Linked DNA regions of Homo sapiens: regions 2, 3, 4, 5 and 6 are each linked to region 1. The links are contacts of gene promoters, found by promoter capture Hi-C in human tissues and cell types (Jung and others, 2019). All regions are on one chromosome and are shown on one strand. The core of a region is centred on a gene start or on the middle of the fragment in contact, and the rest is flanking DNA. Distances in the headings are between cores, read along the strand shown. Region 1 holds the start of ODF4 (outer dense fiber of sperm tails 4). Region 2 overlaps CCDC42 (coiled-coil domain containing 42). Region 3 overlaps LOC105371525 (a long non-coding RNA gene). Region 4 overlaps LOC105371525 (a long non-coding RNA gene). Region 5 has its middle 13 kb from the start of MYH10. Region 6 overlaps MYH10 (myosin heavy chain 10).

Region 1 (3,704 bases), core at 629-3,128:
GAACTCCAAATTCCTGAGGGGTGAGGGAACAGCATAACCAGAGACTAACAACAATAAGAACCAGGTGTGGTGGCCACGGCCTGTAGTCTGAGCTTCTCCGGAAGTTAAAGCAGGAGGATCCCTTGAGCCTGGAAGTTCGAGGCTGCAGTGAGCTATGATTGCACCACTGTACTCCAGCCTGGGTGACAGAGTGAGACCTTGTCTCTAAAAAAATCAGCGAAACAAACAGAAAAAAACAAGGATGAGGAATGAAGCAGCTGCAAGAATTCAGGGAAAGAAGGAACACAGAAGCCAGATGTGGAAAAAGGAAAATGATCCAGAAAAGCAAGGCCTGAGGCAGAAGGAAAGGAGAATGTGTGGGATCAGGGCCTGAGAGGGGACATTGCAAGGAGTCCTCTCAAAGCTCTGGGTACACAAGACTAAGGAAACCCCCATCTCACTGGGGCTCTTGTCCCTGGTAAATTAGGCGATTAATGAATGATTCTCTTGTGCTGAGTCCATGCCCCTCGTAACTTTTTTTTTTTTTTGAGACAGAGTTTTACTCTTGTTGCCCAGGCTGGAGTGCAATGGTGCGGTCTCGGCTCACCGCAACCTCCACCTCCCGGGTTCAAGCAATTCTCCTGCCTCAGTCTCCAGAGTAGCTGGGATTACGGGCATGTGCCACCACGCCTGGCTAATTTTTTGTATTTTTAGTAGAGACGGGGTTTCACTATGTTAGCCAGGATGGTCTCGATCTCCCAACCTTAGGTGATCTGCCTGCTTTGGCCTCCCAAAGTGCTGGGATTACAGGTGTGAGACGCAGTGCCCAGCCTGATTTTTTTTTTTTTTTTTTTGAGACAGGAGTCTCACTAAATTGCCCAGGCTGGACTCAAATTCTTGGGCCCAAGCAATCCTCCCACCTCAGCCTCCTGGATAGCTGAGACTACAGGTGTGCAGCACCATGCCCAACTCTCTCACAGCATTCTTAGAAGCACAGATTTGGCTCTGGGTTTTATCAAAAGCAGTGACATTTTCCATTGCACCAATCAAATCTATTTAGCCAGGCTACAGGATGAGAAACGATCATCGGAGGTCTCAGTGCCAGTGGAACCATCTTGCAGGCCAAAAAGTAAAGATGACCAGAAAGAGGGAACAAGAATACATCCAGGGTGCAGATACAGAGGCCAAGACAGGCTGGCGGCCTGGGCTGGGATGGGGGGTGGAGGGGCTCACCTTTCCCATTCTCTAAGTCAGAACAGCTCCTGGATTTGTAAAAGTGCAGGAGCCCCATGGACATAACGTGGGCTGATGTGTGGATTCTGTTGCTGACATCCACGGGCCAGCGCTGGTAGAAGAGGCTCCTAGAGAGGTCCAGCCATTTCTTGGAGAAGGCCACGACCAATAGTAGGATAAAGGCAACCAGGCTGAGCTCAGAGGCCAACACCTGGGCCATCCAGCGGAAGCTGTGTGTGATTCTCCATTGAAAGGGCAGCGGAGAGTTCTGGCGCTGGCCCAAGGACCTGTTACTACTGAGGGAGAGGGTGGAGGACAGCAGTCTCCCATCTTGTCCCAGCTCACCTGTGCCCCATCCTGCCTCCCCACTCTTCCTTTCCTTTCCAGGTCTCTGATGTTGGTCTCTTTCTCCTTCTGACCTGGGGAACTCATTCCCAGAGTACTCTGCATCCATCTTGAGCACCACTTCACCCTCTGTCTCCCCTTTCCCTCACCAGACTCAATTGTCTCTTCTCATCTTTTGGATATTTTCATCAGCTGCCACCATGCAGCCTGAGGTCTGAGAAAGAATGAGGAAGTCTAATAACAGACCTCGATCAAATAAGAGACTCTTGATCCAAGAGAAGGCCCCAACCCATTCAGCAGGCCAGGTCCCCTAACTGCCACGGAATTTTCCTGGGGCACAGTGAGATGGGGGAGGGAAGCCAAGTCTTCAGCAATTTTTTTTTTTTTTTTTTTTTTTTTTAGAGAGAGAGACAGGGTCTCCCTCTATTGCCCAGGCTGGGATGCAGTGGCACAACCTTGGCTCACTGCAACCTTGAACTCCTGGGTTCAAGTGATCCTCCCACCTCAGCCTCCTGAGTAGCTGGGATTACAGGATTGTGCCAGCATGCCTGGCTAATTTTTCAATTGTTTGTAGAGATGGGGTCTTGATATGTTACCCAGCCTGGTCTCAAACTCCTGGCCTCTGCCAGGCACGGTGGCTCACGCCTGTAATCACTGCACTTTGGGAGGCCGAGGTGGGTGGATCACCTGAGGTCGGGAGTTCGAGACCATCTTGACCAACATGGAGAAACCCCATCTCTACTAAAAATACAAAATTAGCTGGGCGTGGTAGCACATGCCTGTAGTCCCAGCTACTCAGGAGGCTGAGGCAGGAGAATTGCTTGAACCTGGGAGGCGGAGGTTGCGGTGAGCCGAGATCGCACCATTGCACTCCAGCCTGGGCAACAAGAGTGAAACTCAGCCTCAAAAAAAAAAAAAAAAAACTCCTGGCCTCATGAGATCCTCCCCACTTGGCCTCCCAAAGCACTGGGATTACAGGTGTGAGCCACCTTGCCTGGCCTGTGGCTCCAGCTCTAACTCTTTCCGGAAATCCTGTTTCTCAGGCCACAGCTCAGAACTGTGGATCTGACACCTCCCTCCAGCTTCTGCCTCCCTTTACATATGAGCAATGGTATGTGAGAGGCCCTCCTGTGGTCTGCATATGGTTAATTTGTCTTCACCAAACCTCATGCTGAAATTTGCTCCCCAGTGTGGTGGTGATGGGAGGTGAGAGGGCCTAGTGGGTGGTGTTTGGGTCATGGGGGCAGATGCCTTGTGATTGGATTAACGCCTTCCCTGAGACCTCACTCCATTAGCTCCCCGCAATAGCTGGTTGTTAAAAAGAACCTGGCGCTGTTACCAAGCAAAAGTGCTCGCTGCCAGATGTGCATAGAAGCCAATACTCCAATACTAGGGCACTAGGTTTTGAGAAAAGGAAAGCTTTATTGTGAGCTGACCCACGAGGATACGGGAATCCAGCTCAAATCTGTCTCTCTTTGCTGGTCTTAAGGCAGTACTTTTATTAGAAAAGGTTTAGGGGGAGGATTCTGGGATTAGCGGGTGATTGGTGGAAAGAAAGGAGAAGTCTAGAAAGTCCTTAATCATGTCTGGTTATCTCCAAGGTTCTTCGTGGGTTGCATGTGCAAATTTGGTGGCGTTAGTATGAAACAGCAGGTGGAAATTCAGGCTGTGACATCAGCAAGCTCGTTCTGTGCGGATTGCTGTCAGCCATACGGGTTCCCACTGATTTCAGCCAGTCCTGTTATAAGCAAAGGGATTTTTCAGCATTTCAGCAAGCTGTTTCTTAGCTGCCATCCTGTAAACTCGAAAATGTCTGTTAATCACTGGTTTATTTAACTGTTTGGGGCACAGTTTCAGCTCCTCCCTTACCTTGTGATCTCTGCACAAGCCAGCTCCCCCTTGCCTCCACCATAAGTGAAAGCAGCCTGACGTCCTCAACAGATGCCCAATCTTGAGCTTTCTGGCCATCAGAATTGTGAGCCAAATAGCCCTTTTTTCTTTATAAATTATTCACCCTCAGGTATTCTGTTATAGCAACACAAAATGGACTAGGACAGTCCCCTTTTCTCTTCCTAGTTCCTCTGCCCTAACCCCAACCCCAAATGCTCACTGATGGAGCAGGGGGAGGGAGCAGGAGCTTATCCCCA
Region 2 (3,704 bases), core at 868-3,367, 400 kb before region 1:
GATTCTAATAATGATTAATTCATAGTCACATCCCCCACACTTTCCCACCTCTGCCATTTTGAAGCAAACAATATATTTTCATCCATTTGCGTCTCTCTGCAGTATGTATCTCTAAGAGATGAGAGCTCTTTTTAAAATAACTACACCATTGTCACACCTACTATACAATTGATAGTAATTCCTTAACATCAAATATCAGTATCATTTATTGCACAAAATGGGTCAAGCGTGGTGGCTCATGCCTGTAATCTCAGTGCTTTGGGAGGCTGAGGTGGGAGGATCACTTGAGCCCAGGAGTTCAAGACCAGCCTGGGCAACAAAGTGAGACCCCCCCCAAATCTGCAAAAAATTAAAAAATAAAAATCAGTCAGGAATGGTGGCACACACATGTGGTCCCATCTACTTGGGAGGCTGAGGCAGGAGGACTGCGTGAGCCCAGGAGGTCAGGGCTGCAGTGAGCTGTGTTTATGCCACTGTAGTCCAGCCTGAACAATAGAGTGAGACCCTGTCTTTTAAGACAAATTATTGCACGGATGCTTTTTGTACAGTTGGTTTGTTCCAATGAGAGTCCATATAAGGTCCTCACACTGCCCTTAGTTGGTATGCTTCTTAAGCCAGACACAAAAGAGGTTATATCGTATGATTCCATTGATGTGTTTAAAAACAGGTAAAATTAATCTTTATTGATAGAAGTCAGAATATTGGTTTCCTCACTGGTCGGGGGAAGACACTCACTAGCAACCCTTCCTCATTTATTTGCTAGAATACTACCATAAAGAAAAGGACTTCATAAAGAGATCCTTTCCTTCATCCACCATTTGATTACTATGTGGGTCTCGCAGAGAAAGTTTGTTAAATGCTTTATTTAGTTTTCAGAATAATGAATTTGTTCTCTAGCACTGACCTGTAATGTTTCTAGTATCATTGTGAACTGATGGATTTTTAACATATTTGATATGTTTTAATCCTTTGCACTTATTCTTACTAATGTTCAAATCATCTCATCTTTGGGCAGTGGGTGGCTCTTCGATTTGGCACCTAAATCCTTTTGACATCAGCATTAAGTTTAGAGGTGTGTTCCTAGTAGCTCTGATGTGGTCCATTTATTTGAACTGTGGTACACTGTTGCACTGTGTGCCAGATGAACTTTCAGAAATGCACACGTGAATTGTCTGTTTCTTAAAATCCTTCAATGGATAAAGTCCACACTCCTTCCCAAGGTTTACTGAGCTCGCTTGCTTGCTTGCTTTTCTTTTTTTCTTTTTCTTTCTTTCCTTTTTCTTTTCTTTTTTCTTTCCCTTCCTTCCTCCCTCCCTCTTCTTTTCTTTTTTTCTTTTCCTTCCTTTCTCCCTCCCTCCCTCTCTCTCTTTCTTCTTCTTCTTCTTCCTTCCTCCTTCCCTCTTTCTTTCTTCTTCTGCTTTCTTCTTCCTTTCTTCTTCTTCTCAGTCTCTCCCTCCCCATCTTGAACTCAGGCTACCTTCAGCATCCTGAACATACAACCCCCTATTCCATTCATCTTTGCCCAGGCTGTCTCCTTCACCTGTAGCACTGCCTCACCTCCCTACACCTGCTTTTGCTAGCTATCTTCTATTTATATACCTCTCATCTCATTTCAGCCACACTTTCTCCCATGAAACCTTTTCTGGCTGTTCCTACCTCTTTCCGTGCTGGGTTGGGTGGCCCTTCCCCAAAGAGGCATATTTGGGGAAAGGCCAGCAGGGCAGTTCCCAGGACACGCATCCATCACTGGAGATGTCACGAGATGGAGAAGGTGCTCGGGAAGTTTCCCCTGGGCGGCTGAAAGGCATGCTTTGATAAGCCCCTAGGAAGGCAACTTGGTATCACAGAACTGGTGTTCATGCTGCCTTCTAAAGAGCGTGGGTTTCATGGCTTCTGTTCCACTGAGTGGGACCTGAGGGTTAGGGCCAGAGTGGCATGGTTCTGGACCAGGCTGGGGGAGGTGAGCTGAGTCTGGCAGGCCACCTGCCCCACCAGCACCCTCTCTATCCCTGCTTCTCCCTCAGTAAATGAACAAATACCAGAGATCACCAACGTGAAGGCTTTCCCAGAGTCCCCTCCAGCCCTATCCCCCAGTCATAGATAGGGCTTATCTTGCTGTTGTAACTGACTGTTTACTTGTCTGTCTGTCCTCCCTCCATGCCACCCCCCAAGCTGTAAGCTTCCTAAGAGCAGAATCTGGTTTTCCTAACTCCTGCTATTTCCCTAGCATTTAGCATAGCTCCTGGCTTGTAAGTGGTTCCTGGTACAATCTTGTTGAATAGGAAATTCTTGCCTTGGAAGACATTGCAAAATGCCTTCCATCAGCGATTATCAACCCTGGCTGTGCCTAGAGCCACCAGGGGACCTTTTGCAAAATTCAGATGCCAGAGACCACAGAAGACTTGTTTATTCATCTGAATCTCTGGGGGTGGAGACTGGCAGGTGTCCTTTTTAAAGCCCCTACAGGTGATTCTCACATGCAGTTAAAGTCGAAAATCCCTAGCCCAGTTGTGCATCCCCCTGCCCAACAAATGGACCGTGGCCCGTACAAACCCAGGAGAAGCAGGCAGCGGAACCCCAGTGTCCCTCACAGCCTCTGGCCGTGACCCTGGCCAAGGGCCTGCCTGCCCAGGTGTCCAGGTGTCCAGGCATCCAGGCTGGAGGTTGGCAGGACTGGGTGGCTCCCTCAGGCCCCAGGGGCTGGCTGTGCATTGACCTGAGCCCCTGACCACAGTTCGAGGAGATCCATGAGGTGATTGCACGCTACAAGACGCTGGTGAGCATGCGCCACGACCTCATGCAGTCTGCGCAGGAAGGCCAGGAGAAGATTGAGCGCGCCAAGGCCCGGCTGGCGCGCTACATGGAGGAAAAGGATGATGAGATCCTGCAGCAAAACAATGAGCTGGCAAGGCTGCAGATGCGCTTTGACCGTGCCCGCAGCAATGTCATCTTCTGGGTGAGGGGCCCGGGGCGGGCCGGGGGCTCCCAGGCACTGGGTGAGTGCGGGCCCTGAGCATACACACACACACATACACACAAACACACACACACCACATGCTGTGCTCATGCCCCGTCCTTATCCACTCTCCAGGAATCTCGCTGGGCGCACATCCAGAACACCGCAGCCAAGAAGACCCTCCTGCTTGGCACCATTAAGATGGCCACGCTGAACCTCTTCCAGATCGTGAGCAAGCACCTGAAGGAGGTGACTGAGGTGGCACTGGAGGACACCCACAAGCAGCTGGACATGGTAGGAGGAGGGGACAGGCACTGGGCCCGTGGGGTCGGCTGGGCCGAGGAGGTTGCCAGTTGGTTGGGTGGAAGAATGAACCTGACAGAGAAGCAGAGCAGGGACTCTCAAAATTTAACAACATCAGGATCACCTGGGAGGGTGAGGAGTATTACTGGGCCCCACCCGCAGAGTCTCTGACTCAGTGGATCTGAGATGAGAACTCATGAATTTACATTTTCAGCAAGTTCCCAAGTGACGCTGCTGGTTCGGGTTCCATACTTTGAGAACCATTGCATTAGCACCGAAACCCTTTTAGCCCCAGTCTACAGAGCAGTAGCAGGGACCCACTACTGAATCCATTAGTTGTGCAAAACAGCCTCATTAAATTCTAGTGAGATACTGTGGCTTGCTGAAGGCTTGAGCTTGAGGCCCACACTTCGTTAAAAAGAGAAATTGGGGCCAGGCACGGTGG
Region 3 (3,704 bases), core at 626-3,125, 360 kb before region 1:
GACAACTGCCCACTGAGAAAGTACAGCGTGGACAGCAAGGGGGCCCTGGGCCAGCGCTTGAGGAACCCCACCAGCCTGGCAGTGGACCTGAGCTGGCGAAGGAGGCTGAAACGGGGCAACAGAGAGAAAGAGGCGAAACATCTGGTGAGTTCAATGAGAAACTTGACCATCTGTGTCTAGTGTGATTGTGGGTCATGCAAGGTGAGGACTGGAACAACTAGGATGTCACTGGCACCGCAGCAAGACTTACGTCAATGGAGTGATGGAGAGGAACCCAGAATGGAATGAGCAAGAACTGAGTGAGGGGAAGAGACGAAAATGGGGAATGTGGAAAAACCTTTCCAGAAGCTGGTCGTGAAGGGAAGGAAGGCAGTAACTGGAGAAGGTCTTGTGTTGGAGAGGGTTGGTTGGTTTGTTCTTTCAGTGGGAGAGACCTGAAATGTTTAAATGTTGATGGGAAGGGTCTGGTTTGGAGGAAGCGGTTAAATATAGAAGAGAAGCGAGTCACCCATAGTATAAGGCTCCTGGAAGCTGGAGGCTGAAAGTTGACAGTGAAGAATGCCATGAGGTGGAATGGGGAGGCCATGGCAAGTGCCACATCTTAGCAGGTGCGTAGTGAGAAAAGACACAGCCCCTGAGAGACAGGCTGAGACTCACTGGTCCCTGGGGCCACTTCCGCTCTGACTTCCAGTTCCAGTTCTGGTTCTTCTGCGTGTCCTTACAACAACCTCCTTTTTCCCGACGATATGTGTTCATTCAACAAATATTTATGGGCCACCTACTACATGCTAAGCCCAGTCCTGACAGCTGCAGAGAGGGCAGTCAGCAAGACCGATGCCCGTCCCTACCCTCAGAATCTTTTCTTGCATCCGACGAAGCTGAGTGACCAATCCCTTTGGCAATACAGATGCCCTCCATTTGGATTGGTTTATGAGAGAGCAACAAATAGAGGCAACAGATATGAGGGTCAGAAGATAGTGCACTTCCCATAACAGGAAGGGGGCTCTTGGACACAGCTCCTCTTCTGGAAGGTCTTGGGGGCTTTGTTGCGGGGAGGTGTCCAGATGTGTCTCTGGGGTAACTGGATGCAGAGATTCGCTCTCTGCTGTGAAGGTGCTGAGATAGGCACGTGCCTGTGCTGAATCCTATACAAAGAAAGCGAAAGAAACCAACAAATTGACCCCCCCCACACACACACATAGAAGCATCTCCACTGTTTGTTTGCTGTTGCTGTTCTTTTCTTTTTTGGTGTAGAAATTGAGCACATACACAAAGGAATCTCCACTGCCCATCACTCTAGCTGCTGCTGACCTCTCCTCCAAACACTCCTATGTGCTCCATGTGTCCCATTTGACTACGAGTCACATACTTTCTCTAACATCTTAGTTTCAGCTACTCAAAACCAGCACTGATTCTGGTCTTTTCTGTTATGTGGGCCCATACATTTCTTTCTATACTTCAGTTTAAAATGAATTTTTTTGGCCAGGCATGGTGGCTCACACCTGTAATCCCAGCACTTTGGGAGACCAAGGTGGGACGATCACCAGAGGTCAGGAGTCCAAGACCAGCCTGGCCAACATGGTGAAACTCTGTCTCTACTAAAAATAAAAAAATTAGCTGGGCGTGAGGGCAGACACCTGTAATCCCAGCTACTCGGGAGGCTGAAGCAGGAGAATCACTTGAACCCAGGAGGCAGAGGTTGCAGTGAGCCAAGATCGCGCCACTGCACTCCAGCCTGGGCAACAAGAGCAAAACTTCTTCTCAATAAATAAATAAATAAATAAATAAATAAATAAATAATAAAATAAATAAAATAGAAGTTTAAATCTCTTGTAGTGAAAAGAATCTTATCTAAGAGACCCAGAGTCAAGTCCTGCCCCACCTTACCTGCCTGCCACCCTGGGCCAAGCACCCCATCAAGGACATCTCTGCCTGTATTAGTCATCTATGGCTGCATGACAAATTACCCCAAAATTTAGTGACTGCAGTGGCCAATCTCCAAGATGGCCTTAAAGACCCTCACCTCCTGGAACTGGTGCCCTTGCATAGTCTCCTCCCTGATGGTATCACAGTAGCTCTGAACAGAATACAACGGAAGTGACTGTGCGGCTGCCAAGGGTGGGTCATAAAAGACAGTGCACCTGCCCTTCACTTGCCCTAAGCATGTCCCACTGCATTGCATTGGGATTTCCAAACGAATACACAGGCACGTCCCTGGCCTAGCCCTGAGGAGCCAAGGAGGTGGAAGCAAAGCCTCGGCTGAGTCCTAAAATATGATCCTCCCCTCTGAATGCACAGGGAACACAGGTCTCTGAGGCATGTGCCATGAAGGACACTCACCCTTCAGAACAGGCTTTCGAACCCTCCAGGATGCCAGGGAACACATCTGATCAATGTATCCACACTAAAGCGGAGCATCAGACAGATCCCCAGGCCCTATCTCCCTCCTGGACCACACTGGAGGGCTTTCTCAGGGACCTCCTGCAGCCAATGCCCACCACTGTGGTCAGCTAAAGGAGGAGCCACAGTTCCCGCGGGCGAGGCGTGAGGGGACACACATCCGAGCTGAGCCTTGGATGGGGGAGGCTGGGCTCTAGACTCTGTGCTTCGCCCCCCACTCCCACCACCTCTGCTGACCAGCTGTCTCCGCTGCTGTCTGTGTCTTCCCCTTGCGGAGAGCCCAGAGCATTCTCCAGCTCCCTTTCCATCAACAGCCTCCTGGCTCTCCCGCCCACGCACTTCCCACTTCCACTCCTCCTCTCCCCTTCCTGGCTGAGTGCCCTCCCCCAGGCCTGCCGTCTCTCCCTGGTTCTCATTTGAACATCATTTTTCTTCTTTTCTTCCCTTTTGCTAAATGTCCTTGCTTATGTGATGTGGCATTGAGTATACATTTCCGGGCATATTCGTGTGTGTGTGTGCGCGCGCGCGCGCGTGCACACGTGCCTGACCTGACCCATGCTCCGCGGTGGTGGACTGAGCTGTGAGATAGAAGGCTGGGAGCTGGGAGTGGGAGATGGTGACAGAGACCCAGTCCCTTTAACATCTCCTAGAAAAAGGCTCCATGCTCTGGCCCCTGTTTACCTCCAGCCTCACGTCTCTCCACACCTGGAGGCACTCAGCCCCATCTGGTCTCTCTCCCCCGCTTTCTCTCCTCAGCCCGGGGTTTCCGGTTCTAATCCCCATCCATCATTAGGCTAACTACTGCTTGTTCTTTAAGATTCAGCTCAAGTGTCGCCTCCTCCCAGAAGCTTCCTTGAGCCCTTGTGTCTGGCTGGATGCCCCGTATGGCAGCAGTCCATTGCCTCATCCAGGACACGCTGCGTGAGAGCCAGGATCTGCTCTATACTGTCACCTTCCTCTGGCCTCCTGCACAATGTCTGGCCCAGAGTGGGAGCTCCCTTGCAGGGTGGTGCACGCAGCCATGCATCAGGTGTGGATGCTGGGGACAAGGCAGAGCAGAAGAAAGGAAGAAAGAAAGTTTGGGGAGAGAAAAATTGTGTGTGTGTGTGTGTGTGTGTGTGTGTGTGTAAATTTTATTCTATTTTGTTCCCCCAGATAAGCTATGTGGACTGAACATTTTTCCTGGCAGGTTAAGGTTCAAGGGAATTTAAGGGATGTTGGGGGCCATGTGATCTTTGGGATTGGGGGTGGACAGAACCCCAGTGGGACTATGCCCCCCACCTCCTACCCACATACATACTGGC
Region 4 (3,704 bases), core at 852-3,351, 340 kb before region 1:
CTCTGTGTCTGCTGAGTCAAAGTGTGTAAGAATGTGCCATTACTCTGCCTTTTACTACAGAAACGTGGTTTTGTGTTTATTTTTAAAGGAAGATTTGATTTCCAGAGATGAGAATCCCAGGGACAAAACAGAAGACTTCTAAATGATCTTCTATCTTTAACCTTACCCTAACCCCATAATTTTTTATTTCCTACACGGAATGATCTTTTTGCTTTTTTTTTTTTTTTTTTTTTTTTTTTTTTTTCTGAGACGGAGTCTCGCTCTGTTGCCCAGGCTGGAGTGCGGTGGTGTGATCTCGGCTCACTGCAAGCTCCGCCTCCCGGGTTCATGCCATTCTCCTGCCTCAGCCTCCCGAATAGCTGGGACTACAGCCCACCGCCACCACACCCGGCGAATTTTTTGTATTTTTAGTAGAGACAGGGTTTCACCGTGTTAGCCAGGATGGTCTCCACTAAAAATACAAAAATTAGCTGGGCATGGTGGCATGTGCCTGTAATCCCAGCTACTCGGGAGGCTGAGGCAGGAGAACCGCTTGAACCCGGGAGGTGGAGGTTGCAGTGAGCCGAGATTGCGCCACTGCACTCCAGCCTGGCGACAGAGCAAGACTCCATCTCAAAAAAAAAAAAAAAAAAAAAAAAAAAAAAGAGTGCCTCTTATGTTGTGGGCATGGCTTATTTATTCCTACAGATACATTGAAAATAAAATCTCTAAAGAACGTACCAGGATTCATGGTTACCCCTTATTGGGGAAGGACTAGGCAGATGAAACTCAGTGATTAGAGGGAAAATTTTGTACTAGATAATTTGAAACCATTTTTTAAATTTTGAAACAATCTCAAATTTACACAAAAGCTACAAGCATGGTAAAAAAATATCTTTTTCTCCTGAACCATTTGAAAGTAAGTTGTTGATATGATGCCCCATCACCTGTGGATACTTTAGTATCTAAATTCCTACAGGGAAACCCCCACATATGCACAATACAATCAACAAGATCAGGAAATTAACACTGATATATTTCTACCTTTCAAGTGTCCCGATAATGTCCTTTATAGCAAAAGGATCCACTTCATAATCATATGTTGCCTTCATTCTCTTTCAATCTGGATCGTTTCTCAGTCTTTTCGTAGCCTTCAAGACCAGAGAGATTACAGGCCAATAATCAGACGGGGTCTTGCTCTGTTGCCCAGGCTGGAGTGCGGTGGCACAATCTTGACTCAGTGCAGCCTCTGCCTCCCAGGTTCAAGCGGTTCTCATGCCCCAGCCTCCCAAGTAGCTGAGACTACAAGCAGGCACCACCACGCCCAGCTAATTTTTGTATTTTTAGTAGAGACAGGGTTTCACCATGTTGGCTAGGCTGGTCTCGAACTCCTGACCTCAGGTGATCCACCTGCCTCGGCCTCCCAAAGTGCTGGGATTACAGGGGTGAGCCACTATGCCAAGGCATAGGCATGCTGTGATATTTCCTCATGATTAGATTCAGCTTACAAATCTTTGGCGGGAATATCACAGGAGTGACATATGACCTTCTCATTGCATCTATCAATCGGCACACAATTACAATTTGTCCCATTACCGATGACATTAACATTAATCGCTTTATTAATGTGGTGTCTGCCAGGGTTCTCCTTGGCAAAATTCCTCTTTTTCCCTTTCTAACAAATGAGATTTTGTGGGGAAGCACTTGAAGACTATGCAAATGTCTTGTTCTGTTATCAAATTTTCAATTTATTTACTTTTTGATTTATAGTTTTCTATTTTATTACTATTCAACTTCCCATGCTTTTTCTGGAACCATGTGAATGTATTCACTATTTTAAGAAATTAATTTCTAAGAAGAAAGGACCTGAAGTCTAAAAGCTCCACTGATCATAGGTGTTCACTGAATTCATCCTTTTCTTTTGGCAAGGCTTAGGGCATGTATGACCCAAGGTACATGGGGGGTGTGTGTGGTGATGGTGGTGGGGGTGGGAGAGAGTGGAGTGTTAGCAACCCCTGTGGGTCACAGGACTGGGAGTGGGGAGGGGTATTTTGCCGGATGGAAATGGGCGACTATTACCAAAAGCAGGAAGAATGGAAACTGGACATCAAAGACAATCAGTGTCAGCCAAGCACGAGTGGCTCACACCTGTAATCCCAGCACTTTGGGCGGCCGAGGCGGGAGAATCCCTTAAGCCCAGGAGTTACAGTCCAGCCTAGGCAAGCAAGACTCCATCTTTAACAAAAAAAAAAAAAAAAAAAAAAAAATTTTGTTTAATTTAGCCAGTCACAGTGGTGCACCTGTAGTCCCAGCTACTCAGGAGGCTGAAGCGGAAGGATTTCTTGAGCCCTGGAGTTCGAGGTGGCAGTGAACCATGATTGTGCCACTGCATTCCAGCCTGGGTGACAGAGCAAGACCTTCTCTCAAAAAATAATTAATTAATTAAAAAGATAATTAATGCCAAGAAGAGTTCCCAAAGTGCATATAAGAAAAACAAAACACTTGTGGAAAAATAGGAACGCTTTTACACTGTTGGTGGGAGTGTAAACTAATTCAACCATTGTGGAAGACAGTGTGGTGATTCCTCAAGGATCTAGAACTAGAAATACCATTTGACCCAGCAATCCCATTACTGGGTATATACCCAAAGGATTATAAATCATTCTACGATAAAGACACATGCACATGTATGTTTATTGCGGCACTATTCACAATAACAAAGACTTGGAACCAACCCAAGTGTCCATCAGTGATAGACTGGATTAAGAAAATGTGACATATATACACCATGGAATACTATGCAGCCATAAAAAAGGATGAGTTCATGTCCTTTGCAGGGACATGGATGAAGCTGGAAATCATCATTCTCAGCAAACTGTCACAAGATCAGCAAACCAAACACCGCACGTTCTCACTCATAAGTAGGAGTTGAACAATGAAAACTCATGGACACAGGGAGGGAAACATCACACACCAGGGACTGTGGGGGGTGGGGGGCTAGGGGACAGATAACAGGAGAAATACCTAATGTAGGTGACAGGTTGATGGGTGCAGCAAACCACCATGGCACGTGTATACCTATGTAACAGAACTGCACATCCTGTACGTGTAACCGAAAACTTAAGAGTATAATTTAAATAAAAAATAAAATAAAGTTGGGTTGAATTATATTTTAAAAAAGAAGAAGAAGAAAAGAAAAAGGAAACACAAAAAACAGGCTATGACCAGATGGCATTCAGAGTCTACTGTTGGAAAATGGGAAATTTTGGGGCCAGGGATGGTGGCTTACGCCGGTATTCCAGCACTTTGGGAGGCCGAGGCGGGCGGATCACGAGGTCAGGAGATGGAGACCATCCTGACTAACACGGTGAAACCCCGTCTCTACTAAAAATACAAAAAATTAGCCGGGCGTGGTGGCGGGCGCCTGTAGTCCCAGCTTCTCCGGAGGCTGAGGCAGGAGAATGGCGTGAACCCGGGAGGCGGAGCTTGCAGTGAACCGAGATCGCGCCACTGCACTCCAGCCTGGGCGACAGAGCGAGACTGTCTCAAAAGAAAAAGAAAAAAGAAAATGGGATATTTATTGGGATGGAAATGGTGCCCAAAAGTAAAGGAACAAGCCCCAAAACCGGCGGGCGATCATGGGGACAGGGAGGTCCCTGCTTGCTGGCGTGTAGCGTTGGAAGCCAGACCCGTTTCCATGGACCACTCTTCCCAAAAACAATTTC
Region 5 (3,704 bases), core at 829-3,328, 300 kb before region 1:
TAACATTGCACATGCAAACACATGTGCAAATGGAAAGGAGAGTGAAGGTCCATAGTTCCCATGAGATTCTCAAAGTGGTCACTGGGTATTAAATGAAATAAGGCAAGCACAGTAAGACAATACTGTAAATCTCATTTATTTGTGGAATCTGAAAAAAGCTGATCTTATAGAAGTACAGAGTGGAATAGTGGTTACCAGAGGCTAGGGAAGTTAGCGGAGACGGGATGATGGAGAAAGATTGGTCAACAAGTACAAAATTGCAGTTAGATAGGAGGAATAAGTTCTGTAGCACAGCAGGATGACTACGGTAAATGATATCATATTAAATAGTATATATTTCAAAATAAGTAGAGAGGATTCTGAATGTTCTCATCACAGAGAAATGATACATGTTTGGGATGATGAATATGTTAAATACCATGATTTGATCATTACGCAATGTATACATGCATGGAATCATCACACTGTATCCCATAAATATATACAATTATTATGGGTCAATTCAAAACAAAAGGGCTCAGTGACTGTTTTCCACCAACACTTTAATACCATTTTAGAAATTAAAAGAACAGGATCACATTTAGTTGGGCTGCAGGTGTGTTGGGAGTAGAGGTAGAGAAAGACTTCCTGGTGGAGGAGGACTTTTTGGTAGATAAGCCTCCAAGAATGGATAGAATTTCAATAGATGGAGACATCAGAGAGGCCCTGGCAGAGAAGGTATTGTGATCAAAATCTAAGTAACGAGAAAGCGTGGGTTATGTTCAGGGAACTGGGTTTAATCCAGTTTTCAGGATTATCTATGAGAGGGGAGAGATGAGACTGCACATGTACTTGAGGCAGATTCGGGATCACGAATTGAGCCGACATTTACTATTGAATTCAAAAAAATTTTGGCTAAAGTATTCAGAGAAGCTTCAGGGCGAAGGTGAACTTTGAGCTCAGTTTTGTTGTTGCCGTTGTTGTTATGGTGATGAATCTCCCCCTGTCACCCAGGCTGGAATGCAGCAGCGTGATCTTGGCTCACTGCATCCTCTGCCTCCTGGGTTCAAATGATCCTCCCACCTCAGCCTCCTGAGTAGCTGAGACTGCAGGCACCTGCCACCACGTGCAATCAATTTTTGCTTTTTGTTTTTCTGTAGAGACAGGGTTTCGCCATGTTGCCCAGGCTGGTCCAGAACCCCTGGGCTCAAGTGCTGGGATTACAGACGTGAGTCACCATGCCCAGCTGGGGTTCAGTCTTGATGGGTGGGGAGGACCAGGCCTGGTGAATTTGCGGAGAAAGGGCCTTCCAGGAGGAAATAGTACAAACAAAGCGGGGAAGATGGCCAGAAAGAAGCAAAGAAGATGACAAGACCAACTGGAGGTGATAACTGGGAGAAACATCTGTGTTGAAGGACGAGGCGTGAATTGAGAAGGTGGGTTGACACTAGATTATGAGGATTGTAACATTCAAGCTGAACAATTTCTTATTTTCTCCAGGATCTCATTTTTCCCCACTAGGATTTGGCACTCCCAATAAAAATCATATCAACCAAAGTAATTTTTAAGGTTTCTTTCATAGAGAATTTCCAATATATCCAAAAATAAAGAGAGAGCGGTATACTCATTAGTCAACTTCAACAATTCATGAACAAACTTCTTTCTATACTCTCTCCCATACTATTTCACAGCAAATCCCAGACACCATATTATTTCATCTGTAATTTTATAGTGCCCATCTCTAAAAGAAAAGGATTCTTTATTTTTACATAACGACGATAGCATTACCATACATTTAAAAATTAACAGTACTTTATTAATATCATCTAATATCCAGTCTGCATTCAAATTTCCGATTGTTTCATAAATTACTTGTTTTCCATTGTTTCATAAACTGTTTGTTTATTTGAATCAGGCTCCCAAAAAAGCTTCACACGTTGCAATTGGTTGATGTATCTTTTAAGTATCTTTTAATCTATAGCATTGGCCCATCTCTTTGTTGTTTCCTTTACTTGCAATTTATTGGTTGAAGAAGCCAGGCTGTTTGTTCTGTGACGCTTTCTACATCCTGGATTTCGTCGATTGCATTACTCTGGTATGGTTTAACATGGTCTTCTGTCCTCTGTATTTTCTGTAAATTAGTAGATTCAGACGCTTAATAAGATTCAAGTTTGAGCACTTAAGAATAGCTAGATATGGCCAGGTGTGATAGCTCATGTCTGTAATCCCAGCACTTTGGGAGGGTGAGGTGAGTGGATGGTTTGAGCCCAGGAACTCGAGACCAGCCTGGGCAACATGACACAACCTCATTTCTACAAAAAAAAATACAAAAAATTAGCCAGGTGTGGTGGTGCATGCCTTTAGTCCCAGCTACCCAAGAGGCTGAGGTGGGAAGATCACCTGAGCCCAGGAGATCGAGGCTGCAGTGAGCTGAGATTGCATCATTGTACTCCAGCCTGGGTGACAGAGTGAGACTGTTTTTAAAAAAAAAAAAAAAAAGAAAGAAAGAAAAGAAAAGAATAGCCTCCTAAGAGCCCAATGGTAGGCCAAGTCTTTGCATGCATTGTCTTATTTAATCCTTAAAACAATCTCATTCAGTCTGTGCTATCATCATTGCCATTTAACAGATGAGGAAACTAAGGTCTTGAGATGTCATGTGGCTTGTCTAAGGACACAGTTGTAAGTGGTGGAGCCAATTTAATTGATTGCTGAGTCCAGATGTTTACCCCCTGTATTAGTCTGTTCTCATGTGCTAATAAAGACATACCCAAGACTGGGTACTTTATAAAGGAAAGAGGTTTAATGGACTCAGTTCCACATGGCTGGGGAGGCCTCACAATCATGGCAGAAGGCAAAGGAGGAGCAAAGGCACGTCTTATATGGTAGCAGGCAAGAGAGGTTATGCAGGGAAACTCCCATTTATAAAACCATCAGATCTCGTGAGACTTATTCACTACCACAAGAACAGTATGGGGGAAACCAACCCCATGATTCAATTATCTCCACCTGGCCCCGCCCTTTTTGCATGGGGATTACTACAATTCAGGGTGAGATTTTAGTGGGGACACAGCCAGATCATATCACCCCCCCATGCCATCCATCCTACCTGCAGCAGCAGATTACCACCTGCCTGCAGTCAAGGCACATCATGAATATCATGATTATCCCTTATCCCTTCCAATTTATCTTGCTTAGATATGCAGAGTAAATGCTGCTAAGCGTGTACAGGTATCTGCATGTCTATCAGAGTGGATCTTTCTGTGTAAGGGCTGTTGGTATGGTCTATTTGGGTGTACAACTTCTAATTAGCAGTCTTTCTATATTACATTCTTTCTTTACTTTTTATAAGAACTTTGATAGGCTTAGATTATTTCCTCTGCAGTTATGTATTGTTTCTGTATCATTTAAAACTCCAAGCAAGGAACAACACTCATTAATATACATCTATAGAAAATAACAAAAGAGCACTACACACTTCCTTTGAAAGGCAAAGGCTATGTACAAGTCCTTTCCAAATGGTAATGATAACGATGATAAATATAATAGCAATAATAAAGAGTGACACTATTGACTGCTAGTTTGTGATAAGATATTTACAAATGCCACTGTGCTAAAACCTTTACAAGTGTTAGTTTATTGTATTTAACCTTACAGCAACCTTATAAAGTAGGTCTTTCTCTCTTTCTTTTCTTTCTTTCTTTCTTTCTTTCTTTCTTTCTTTCTTT
Region 6 (3,704 bases), core at 500-2,999, 270 kb before region 1:
AAAAAAAAAAAAAAAAAAGAAGTGAATTGCTTACTTTCTAAATCTAGGGGATCTTCAGGTTTATTTTATTATTTCTAATAGATTCCCCCCTTGGTCAAATAACATGCCCTGAATAATTTCAATTCTTTTATATTTGTTAGACTTGCTTTATGGTTCGTTATGTGATTAATTTGGTAAAGGGTTATTATGCACTTGAAAAATACATATACTTTATTATCTGTTGTTTCAGTTACTGTGAAAATCCCTTCCTTTTTAGTTCTGTCCATTTTTGCTGTGTACATGCTGAAGCTATTATCACGTATATACAGATGTAGAAATTTGATGTCTTTCTGGCAAATCATGGAATGGTCATTTTTAGTGATGTTGTTTTCTTGCAAAATTGACTGTTGTTTTCTTGCAAAGTCTGATATTTGCATTAGCCTTTTTTTTTTGGATTAGTGTTTGTGTGGTTAATTGCTTTCTTAACTTACTTTCAGCTTTTCTGTGCCTGTGCCTTTAAAATATGTCTCTCATAAACTGCTTATGGTGGTTATTTTTGTCCCAAATCTGACAATATTTTTCAGCTGGAATATTTAGTTTATGTACATGTGATGTAATGACTGTTACATTTTAGCTTAAATCTGTCCTCTGATTCATTGCTTTCTTTTTATCCTACCCGCTCTATGTTTATTTTTTAATCTTTTTGTCCGTTGGTTATAATTTTTATTATTCTGTCTTTTCACCTCGTGTTAGCTGTCCATTTTTGCTATTTGCTTAGCTATTCTTTTAGTGGTTACATATTCCAACATGGATCCTTGACCTGTTAGACATGTGGAGCTCTTATTCTTTTGTAGATCATGATAGGTAGGGCCTGAGAGCACCTGAACAAATTTATTTCCTCTTCCTTCCTAATTTATGTGCTTTTGTTGTTTAATTCTCTCTATATTTTAAAACCCACAAGACACATATTACATTTTAATACTGTCGATATTCATTTAGTTTTATCCATTACTCTTTTTTTTCCACATCTTTTAGCTTCCGTTCTTTTAGAAAGGGCCCCTTTTATCTGAAGTATCTACTCGTCCTTTATTTTTGAAGTTTTTTTGGTTTTTGCTGGATTTGGAATTCAGAGCCGGCGGTTGTTTTCTTTTAACATTGTGAAAATGCCATTGCATCGGGTTCTGCCTTTCGTCTTTTTCTGTTGAGAATTCAGCTTGTAGTTTGATTGTTGTTCCCTTGAAGGTCATCGGTTTTCCTTTTCCCACCCCGGCCACTGGCTGTCTCTAAAATTTTCTCTGTCTTTGGATTTCAACACTTTTACTGTGATGGGCTTAGGTAAAGTTTTATTTTGTATATAGTGGGTCCTCCTTGTCTTCAAGGGATACATTCTAAGATCCCCAGTGGATGCCTGAAACCACAAATGGTACTGAACCATATATATATGATGTTTTTTCCTATACATACATACCTATGATAATTTTTTTTTTTTTTTGAGACAGAACAGAGTCTCCCTCTGTAGCCCAGGCTGGAGTGCAACGGTGCAATCTCGGCTCACTGCAACCTCCACCTGCCAGTTCAAGCAATTCCACTGCCTCAGCCTCTTGAGTAGCGGGGATTACAGGCGTGCGCCACCACGCCTGGCTAATTTTGGTATTTTTAGTAGAGACGGGGTTTCACCGTGTTGGTCAGGCTGGTTTTGAACTCCTGACCTCGTGATCTGCCCCCTCCTTGGCCTCCCAAAGTGCTGCGATTACAGGTGTGAGCCACCGCACCTGGCCATACCTATGATAAAATTTAATTTACAATTTAGGCGTGGTGGGAGATTAACAACAATAACTATTAAAATAGAGCAATTAAAACAATATACTTAATAAAAGTTATGTAAGTGGTTTCTCTCCCTCTTTCAGAATATCTTATTGTACTCTTCTTGTGATGATTTGATGAATTTCTTTTTCCTAGTTCACAAATTCACAGATAGAAGATTGATTCTTCCCATAGATCCTAGCAGCCTCAGCATATGATTTTATCGTTATTAAGTTGAAAACTTACCATATCACTTAAAGGAAGCACTTTGTGGCTTCTCTTTGGCATATCAGAATTGCCAGCATCACTACTCTTGTGCTTGGGGCTATTCTTAAGTAAAATAAAGGTGACTTGAACACAGTTGATCTGAGATCTGAGAGGGCTACCAAGTGATTAATAGCTGTACAGCATGATGATGCTGGACGAAGGGATAATTCACGGTCTGTGCACGATGGAGCGGAATTGTGCCAGATTTCATCACACTACTCAGAATAGTGCACAATTTAAAATGTATGAACTGTTTATTTCTGGAGTTTTTCAACAAATATTTTTGGACCACAGTTGATTGTGGACAACAAACTGCAGAAAGTGAAACCACAGATAAGGGGCACTACTGCATTCAGCTTGGAGATTGTAGTGGTTTTGACTCTGTGGCTTGATGGCTTTTGTTGGTCCGGGAAAATTCTTAGCCATTATCTCTTCAGATACTGCTTCTGCCTCATTCTCTTTTTTCTCCTTCTTGGACTCACATACTTCACATGCTCCAGATCGTTTCACCTCGTCCCATCTGGGTCTCACATTCCTCTACATTTTTATCCTTGTTTTTCCCCCATGGATCACTCTGGCTGTTTGCCTCTGATTAAAATGCCGTGTAACTAATTGTTTCTTCAGCTGTATCTAGCTTGCTGTTTAACACATGAATTCTTAATTGTAGTTACTGGTTTTCTTTTTTTGTTTTGTTTTGTTTTGTTTTGTTTTTCAGTTTTAGAATTTTCATTTGGGTTTTTCCTTTAATAGTTTCCAGTTCTCTGTCAGAATTCTCAGTCACGTCTTTAATTACTTGAACATATTGTAACCCAGGGCAATAATACAAGTCAATAAAAATAGACACACAGAGGTTCCAGATATTATCTTGGATTTCAGCCACAACTTGTTGCCTCATATGCCCAGTTATTGTGTACAAGGAATTGTGGAAATAGTTTGAGACTCTGGCTGGCATTAAGCTTATTCTAGAGTTTTGCTTTGGGCAGGCAGGCTTAGGGAAACTAGGACATGTAGTCCATGCAGGAGTTGACTTCTGTTCCAACTGGGCTTCACGCTGTGTGAGGGCTGGTCTGTTTCTCATATAGTCTTAACTCTTAGGGTGTAGCCATCAGGGTCCCAGCTGAAAGCTTGGGGTATTTACCACCGCCACACCAACCTCTTCCTGAGTAGACTGGAATGTTTTAATTTTTGTTCTCTTAGACTTTTGTGCTGCTGAAAGCTCTGCTTAGCATCTTCTCAGCAACGGGTTTTGGGATGCATAACTATTATCTATCTAAGAAAGAAATAACAATTCTCTAATCATCAAATATTCAGTTACTTTTCTTATTTTCCTTTTGTCTCATAAATAATCTCATAAATAGTTGGTCTGTACAATTCAGGATCCAAACAAGGTTGACATATTGAGATTGGTTGCTTAGTCTGTTTTGTGTTGCTATAACAAAATAACACAGATTGTATGATTTATAAACAAGAGAAGTTTATTTGGCTTATGGTTCTAGAGGCTGGGAAGTCCAAGGTCAAGGGGCTGCATCTGGTGGGGCCTTCTTGCGGCATCATTCCATGGGAGAAGGCGGAAGGGCAAGAAGAGCATGCTCAAGAGAGAGCAAGAGATAGAATTTATAGCCACAAGCCCTTTTATAATTGGCATTAATCCATTG

Evidence for each region. The method cuts DNA at HindIII sites, captures the fragments that hold promoters and counts their contacts. A contact is called where the count stands out against the background at its distance.
Region 2: a contact is called between a fragment that was not itself captured here and the fragment with the promoter of ODF4 in region 1, in 2 of the 25 tissues and cell types used here (lymphoblastoid cells and spleen).
Region 3: a contact is called between a fragment that was not itself captured here and the fragment with the promoter of ODF4 in region 1, in 2 of the 25 tissues and cell types used here (spleen and stomach).
Region 4: a contact is called between a fragment that was not itself captured here and the fragment with the promoter of ODF4 in region 1, in 1 of the 25 tissues and cell types used here (spleen).
Region 5: a contact is called between a fragment that was not itself captured here and the fragment with the promoter of ODF4 in region 1, in 2 of the 25 tissues and cell types used here (adrenal gland and spleen).
Region 6: a fragment that was not itself captured here is called in contact with the fragment with the promoter of ODF4 in region 1 in 4 of the 25 tissues and cell types used here (adrenal gland, lymphoblastoid cells, neural progenitor cells and 1 more).

What each region holds. Positions count from the first base shown.
Region 1 is chr17:8,338,014-8,341,717 of GRCh38, reverse strand. It overlaps ODF4 (outer dense fiber of sperm tails 4), which reads right to left and starts at 1,878. Exons shown (of 3, transcript NM_153007.5): 1 at 1,213-1,878. The coding sequence starts at 1,666. LOC124903916 (a long non-coding RNA gene) reads right to left here and starts at 3,661. Exons shown (of 2, transcript XR_007065607.1): 1 at 3,427-3,661; 2 at 2,960-3,295. The HindIII fragment of the contact is 12,554 bases long and covers 1-3,704 here.
Region 2 is chr17:8,734,642-8,738,345 of GRCh38, reverse strand. It overlaps CCDC42 (coiled-coil domain containing 42), which reads left to right. Exons shown (of 7, transcript NM_144681.3): 5 at 2,735-2,956; 6 at 3,092-3,250. Among named protein-coding and RNA genes, the nearest start is that of CCDC42, 8.3 kb to the left of the region's middle. The HindIII fragment of the contact is 9,119 bases long and covers 1-3,704 here.
Region 3 is chr17:8,697,887-8,701,590 of GRCh38, reverse strand. All of the region lies in intron 2 of LOC105371525 (a long non-coding RNA gene), which reads right to left. Among named protein-coding and RNA genes, the nearest start is that of CCDC42, 45 kb to the left of the region's middle. The HindIII fragment of the contact is 7,889 bases long and covers 1-3,704 here.
Region 4 is chr17:8,681,863-8,685,566 of GRCh38, reverse strand. The region is part of intron 1 of LOC105371525 (a long non-coding RNA gene); the gene reads right to left. Among named protein-coding and RNA genes, the nearest start is that of MYH10, 53 kb to the right of the region's middle. The HindIII fragment of the contact is 9,047 bases long and covers 1-3,704 here.
Region 5 is chr17:8,641,409-8,645,112 of GRCh38, reverse strand. No RefSeq gene overlaps it. Among named protein-coding and RNA genes, the nearest start is that of MYH10, 13 kb to the right of the region's middle. The HindIII fragment of the contact is 4,355 bases long and covers 1-3,704 here.
Region 6 is chr17:8,610,622-8,614,325 of GRCh38, reverse strand. All of the region lies in intron 2 of MYH10 (myosin heavy chain 10), which reads left to right. Among named protein-coding and RNA genes, the nearest start is that of MYH10, 18 kb to the left of the region's middle. The HindIII fragment of the contact is 6,260 bases long and covers 1-3,704 here.